Linked DNA regions of Homo sapiens: region 1 is linked to region 2. The links are contacts of gene promoters, found by promoter capture Hi-C in blood cells and fetal thymus (Javierre and others, 2016). All regions are on one chromosome and are shown on one strand. The core of a region is centred on a gene start or on the middle of the fragment in contact, and the rest is flanking DNA. Distances in the headings are between cores, read along the strand shown. Region 1 overlaps TDRD7 (tudor domain containing 7). Region 2 holds the start of ZNF169 (zinc finger protein 169).

Region 1 (3,334 bases), core at 696-3,195, 3.2 Mb before region 2:
GCTATCTTTCATGGAGGACTATAACTCTCTATTTGCAAACAACTTTTTGAAGGGAAGGGGAATCCCTTGGAGTATAAGACTGTGGGTCTCCAAGCTGGTGAGAAGCAGTTAAATGCAGTAAAACCTGGAAGGCTAAATGTGATTGTATTCAAATGCACGACTTGCCAGTCTGATTTCAATTCCCACATTAGCAACATCACTTCAGGCAGTGAACGAAAAAGAAAGTGTAAGCTTTAAAAAAAATCGTCATTATTTTCTAAACTATATCACTTTGGAAATGCTCTGAGTTTTGTTACGTGGCTCATGATGACTTTTTTTTGAAACTTTCGGAAGATGGCAATTATACTCTCAAGGTATATAAGAATACTTTGTTCTAACTATAAAAATAAAGTTTAATATCTTAGACATCATCCATTAGAAGCATAAAAGAAAGTATATCATAGGAATTTCAACTGGAGTGCAGTGGCGCAATCTTGGCTCACTGCAACCTCCGCCTGCCGGGTTCAAGTGATTCTCCCGCCTCAGCCTCCTGAGTAGCTGAGACTATCTTTTTTATGCTTTCGTGCTTTCCTTTTTTTCTTCGCTTATACCCAGTTAATCTTAATTATCCAAGACACTAATAATGCACATGAGGTGGGGTGGGGAGTTGGGGAGTGATGACAATCTTTAGGGAAACAAAATTTAAATAATTTAAGTGGCCTAAAATAATTCTCACTCTACTTCAAAACTGCATTTTGTAAATTCACAGCTTTTCTCTTTACTATACCTGAAAATGGCCCAAGGAAGTCCTATTCTGAAGAACCTGGTTTTGGTGTATCCCAGATAAACGCCTTCTACCATTGATTGATCCTCCCTGGCTCAGTCATTTGCATGTTATCTGCTTCCTCTAACTACTGGTGTCAAAGGCCTTTAGCTGAGCTAGTCTGGCTTCCATCCTATGCCTTCTCTTTTCTAAGTTTCTTCTTGCTCAACTATTTCCAACTGTATGATTTGGCTCATCTTCCTTACTACATTTTTCATGTCATCAGTTTAAGTTGTCGAGTGGCACTAAATCTTAAAACAAATCAGAAGAATTATTAGGGTAAACTGAAAACACCAAGTAATCTCTCTTAGCTTCTTTTAGTTAGATGTTCAATTTTGAAGTATCTGGATATCTCTTTAGGGCATATACTTCTAATAACTAACTGCCCTTCTCCTTGAAGACACTATTTTAGCAACAGCGGGAACTTAAAGTCCCATAATGTCTGTGCTGACACATTTTAGGCATCGTCTAGGCTAACCCAAGCTCCTTATCTTACAAATCAATAAACTGAGCCTCAGAGGGAAAATTTTTTCCTAAGATCTTTACCCAATAAATGATTTCTCACCTTGCGACACTTTTAAATGCTCTTTTCTTTCTAATCATAGTCTGTTACCACTTCAATTACTCCTTCACCAACCGGTTTTTAAAGGAAAAAGATGATTAATACCCTCAGATGATGGTATACTTCCTTAAGAGTTTTTTTCAGGGAGTTATCTTTTTTATTCTTGTGATCTCAAGTTCCAAATTATTCGTGCATTTTAACTGCATACCACGAATGTACGTAAGTAAGGGATTTCCATAAGTCTACATACTAGACGAAAAAACCCTGAGATAATAAAGTGGCTTAGTAAGGAGTTTGTGTCTTAATCCTAGTTCCGCTACTGATTACCTGTGACAAGTCACTTCAGGTCTCTTTTTTTCACAAGGAAGATAAGAAAGGTGGGCAAGAGCCATGATTCTCAACTTTCCTTGGATTCACTGAAGGCTGAAATAAGGTCCAAATATGTAATGAAAACCGAGTTTGCTTACTCATGACAAAGCTGCACAGGCTAAAATGCCAAGCTTACTTTGAAGTCACACTGGGTAGCTTGCACTGATCAAGTTCTGATTGGCATATATACATGTCTTCAACTAAAAATTGCAAAATTAATTACTTTTAGTTTGAAAGACAAAACTGTAAACATATTTGGCTTACAGGGAAATAATGACAAGAATGAAGCTTTCAAAAGTACAGAGGTGGGAGTGGAGGGAGGAAAAAGCAGGTTTGGCACAAAGAAACAACAGTTCACGTAAATATAAAATTTCACCAAGGAACTTCTGTGAAAGTGTCCAGATGCAAAGCACTCTATGTCAAATCTCAATTCTTGAAAACAGCACTTGACAAACACAAATTAGGCACTCGGGGTTGGATTATATTTTTTCTTTATATTCACATTAAGTATCCAGCTAGATTATATTGCACAGAGAACTTAAAAGAGGGGTTCTGCAAGGAGTTTAAAATCTCTTGATGCACAATACAATAGTTCATTCAGCCATGTTCAACCTGTACACTTAAAAGGGCATTAGCAGGGGATTACACTTCATTTTCAATCTACAGAGACTGAAATCTGAAGGCACTGCCAACTGCTGCCTCACAGTCTCACCGTGCAACTACCAAAGACGGAGGCTGTGTGCCACCAAAGGGCCCTGGATTGGGGCACAGGAGATGTGAGTGCTAATCCAGCTGGCCCCAGGGGCAATTCCCTATACCCAGAACAGTACTTTGCACGTAACTGATGCTCAATGAATGTCAGCTGAGAGGAAATGCAAAAATATCCACCATGTGCCCATTTATATTATATAGTAAACACAAAGATCTTTGTGTCCCTGCCCTCAAAAAACTAAAATCCAATTATGTAAAACATGGACCGTTTGTTGGGAGGAAGAGAGTGAATACTGCTTGGCAATTATTATGAGGCAAAGGATATACAGTGGTTATCTTGGAAAAGCCTTGCAAAGTAAGCCAGGTACCTCTATTTGACACATAGAAAACCAGGCTAAGAGAAAGCATGTAATTTGTTCAAGATCACACAATTTGTAAAATGAGAAGCCCAGATTTCAATCCAGGTCTGCAAAGTTCACATTATTTGCAGTATGCAACACATTCATACACATCAAGGCAGCCCAGGACGAGACAGGGATTTGGGTCCAAGTTTTACTTCTGCTATTAAGCTGTTGCCTATCTCTCTAGAGAGAACATTTCTCTGCATTTTTTTCACCGGCACGATTGGAGAGCAGAGAGGTGTTGGTAGGAGGGTTAATGAACTAGATCTGTGGTTTTTTGGTTTGGTTTGGTTTGGATGGGCGGTGATCAGAATTCTTCTGGGCCAGGACTTGTTCTAATGTGGTTGTTTCCCTTCCCTGCTCTTAGAAATTATTTGAGAATGGTACCTTTAGCTATTAATGGAAATATACCTCTCAAGTGAATGGGAGCAGAAAGATATGCCGGCTCCAAGCTCCCTCCTAGCAAGCTGAAGCTGAGAGTCTGACCCT
Region 2 (3,300 bases), core at 134-2,633:
TGCTCCCGGAAGGGTCCCCAAGTCCGAGGGAGCCACACAGCTGCAGAAGCCGACAATCTGGATACAAGCACGCCCCCATGCAACCCACAACCCAGGGATGTCTAACTCCAGGCAAGCCCTTCTCAACTCACCAACTTGGGTCCCCAGGCCCCAAGGCTACTGACCCGAGTCGCACGGCCCTAGCCGTCCCCCCCCCCACTATCAAGACCAAGTCTGGATGTCTACCCACAAACAATCCTCCCCCACAAACCCGGGTCCTAGTGGCCAAGCTGCACCATCACCACCACAGTGCACCAGCCATCCACAAGAGCCCTAATAACTGGACTGAGGTTGGGCACGGTGGCTCACGCCTGTAATCCCAGTACTTTGGGAGGCCGAGGCGGGGGGATTACTTGAGGTCAGGAGTTCGAGACCAGCCTTGCCAACATGGTGAAACCCCGTCTCTACTAAAACACAAAATATTAGCCGGGCGTGGTGGCGTGCGCCTGTAGTCCCAGCTACTCGGGAGCCTGAGGCAGGGGAATCACGCCACTGCACTCCAGCCTGGGCGACAAGAGCGAAACTCTGTCTCAAAAAAACAAAACAAAACAAAAACCAAAAAATTAGCCGGGCGTGGTGGCGGGTGCCTGTAATCCCAGCTGCTCGGGAGGCTGACGCGGGAGCATGGCTTGAACCCGGCGGCTGGGGTGGGGCGCGGAGATTGCAGTGAACCGAGATTGCGCCACTGCACTCCAGCCTGGGCGACAGAGAGAGACTCTGTTTCAAAAATAAATAAATAAATAAATAAAATTTAATAAATAAACAAATAAACAACCCGACTGATGCCCAAGCCGCGTGCCTCCCACTAATGGGGAAGTTTGCTCCAACCGAGGATATCATGTCCTCCAAAGGCACATTTGCTGGCCCAGAGACCTCCGAGGCGCGATGGTGGGGAGGGGATGGCGGGATACTAGTGGCAGGATGCTGTCTGGGTACCCCAGGCAGAGCCCACTCAGCGGCCCCCGAAGTACCGGGGACGCACCTGCGAAGTAGCTCGGGAAGTCGGTCCCAGGCCTGCACTGGCCCCTCCAGGTCAACATACTGGGCCCAAAGTCCCGCCAGAAGCACGCGACAACGCCAACGCCCCCTCCCCACCAGAGGACCTCCGCCAAGACCTCTCTCCGGGGTGGACCACGCACGCCCAGACCCCACAGCCGAAACTCAAAACACCAAGGAACATGTGGCCACGACATGGACTGCCCATGCCAGCTTTCCCGACCTTCCTTCCAGTGGAAGGCCCGCGAAAGCGGGGACCACCTCCGGGCTAGCTCACCAGAACTGTGAAAGGACACTCACCACGCACCAGGCGACGATGCCGGAACGCGGAAGTACGCGAGCCGGACTGCCCCTGGGCACGGAACTACACTACCCAGACTGCCACGGGGCGCGCAACTACCCTACCGTGGATGCCCTGGAGCGAGGGACTACAACATCCAGAATGCTGCGAGGGGCGGGACCGCAGCATCCAGGAGAAATTGTGAAAAATCAGAAAGTAAAATCTAACTTTCGGGTCTATGAGAAGGGTGGTCAGGTGAGCAGTAAGTCTTCTTTAACTTTTTATACGGTCCTTCTAATTTTTTTTTTTTTTAAAAAGATGTTACATGTCCTCCATCCTGCAAATTCACACCTGTGATTGTACACCCCTGAACTTTATCTACTTACTTATTTTTTGAGAAGGGGTCTTGCTCTGTCGGCCAGGCTGCAGTACAATGGTGTGATCATAGCTCACTGCAGCCTCAAACCCCTGGCCAAGCAATCCTCTCACCTCAACTTTCTGAGTAGCTGGGAATACAGGTGCATAGCACCACACCGGGCTAATTTTTTGTTTTGTTTTTTAGAATCTGGGTCTCGCGGCCGGGCGCGGTGGCTCACGCCTGTAATCCCAGCACTTTGGGAGGCTGAGGCGGGCGGATCAGAGGTCAGGAGTTCGAGAGCAGCCTGGCCAATGTGGTAAAATCCCGTCTCTACTAAAAATACAAAAATTACCTGGGCGTCGTGATGGGCGCCTGTAGTCCCGGCTACTCAGGAGGGTGAGGCAGGAGAATCACTTTGAACTCGGGAGGTGGAGGTTGCAGTGAGCCAAGATCGCACCACTGTACTCCAGCCTGGACAACAGAGTGAGATTCCTTCTCAAGGGGGAAAAAAAAAAAAAAGAATCTGGGTCTCGCTATGTTGACCAGGCTGGTCTGGAACTCCTGGCCTCAAGCAATTTTCCCACTTCAGGCTCCCAAAGTGCTGGGATTACAGGCGTGAGCCGTCCTTGTGGCCCAGGCTGCCTTTCGAGTTTATTTAGGGCCCTCTAGCCAGAGGTGGTGAGATTGGCAGTAACTCAAATTCCAACTGCTGGGATAGGTGATTCTCCTCGGGCTAAGGCTGGTGTAAATACTCCCTCCATGCGTGAGAATCAGCTGTGTTTGATCCAGTTTTGCTTTCTGGTATAACAGGGCAGCACTGAGTTCAATGCAATGTCTCATCATTGCTGTGCTTGCCGTCTCCCAAGAACATAGATTCTCTCTCCGCACCACAGAGCCACTGCTGGGGGATGGGTCAGGGGCATTGGTGATTCAAGACTGTCTTTCCTACCTTTTCAGTGCCTCTTTCAGTCATATGAAGTAAAAACCAGGTACTGCGAGTGCTTACCTGATTTTTGGTTCTTGTGAAGGTGCTTTTGTGTGTAAATAGTTGTTAACTTGTTTTTCTTACAAGGGGGAATGATCAGTGGAGCCTTCCATTCCACCATCTTGCTCCACCTCCCACCCCCATGTTTTAAATGACAGTGTGTATGAATGTACTTCTAAAAATGCCAAAAATACTGGGGTTTTTTTTCCTGTTATAAAGAAGAAGATTCTGAAGTTTTTTTTTTAATTCCAATTGATTACAAGAAGATAAGGAAAAACTAAACTTGAGGACATTTAACACTATAGCAATTAAAGTTATCTTACTAATGCAAAGATTGTTTATTAGATGTAACAGAATAATACGCTCAAAAACATACCAAAGTCTTTGCAAAATGAGTTATACTCTTTTTCTAAGAATTTGATAAAAAGTGGTATTTTTAAGTTACTTCCTATTTGCTTCTTCTCAAAATGAAGTAACAGGAACCAGATTTAGCCCTTCACCTTAATCAACATTTAAAAGGACAAAATATATGAAACATTTGAAGACATTTGACATCAGACAATGAAGAGCAGTGGAAATCATGGAGGTGAGCCTTTGAACTTCCCGCAGATGGAGAGAATTTCCAAGTCATAGCACAGAGAA

Evidence for each region. Contacts are between HindIII fragments. The CHiCAGO score rates a contact against its expected background, and 5 or more counts as called.
Region 1: a contact is called between a fragment that was not itself captured here and the fragment with the promoter of ZNF169 in region 2, in 2 of 17 cell types (activated CD4 T cells and non-activated CD4 T cells). The highest score is 6.7, in activated CD4 T cells.

What each region holds. Positions count from the first base shown.
Region 1 is chr9:97,412,883-97,416,216 of GRCh38, reverse strand. The region is part of intron 1 of TDRD7 (tudor domain containing 7); the gene reads right to left. Among named protein-coding and RNA genes, the nearest start is that of TDRD7, 2.5 kb to the right of the region's middle. RefSeq lists enhancers at 3,275-3,334, 3,139-3,334. The HindIII fragment of the contact is 157 bases long and covers 1,867-2,023 here.
Region 2 is chr9:94,257,381-94,260,680 of GRCh38, reverse strand. It overlaps ZNF169 (zinc finger protein 169), which reads right to left and starts at 1,383. Exons shown (of 5, transcript NM_194320.4): 1 at 1,336-1,383. LINC02603 (long intergenic non-protein coding RNA 2603) reads left to right here and starts at 1,370. Exons shown (of 3, transcript NR_160773.1): 1 at 1,370-1,570. RefSeq lists enhancers at 1-571, 901-1,030, 572-1,218, 1,061-1,380, 1,219-1,864. The HindIII fragment of the contact is 11,618 bases long and covers 1-3,300 here.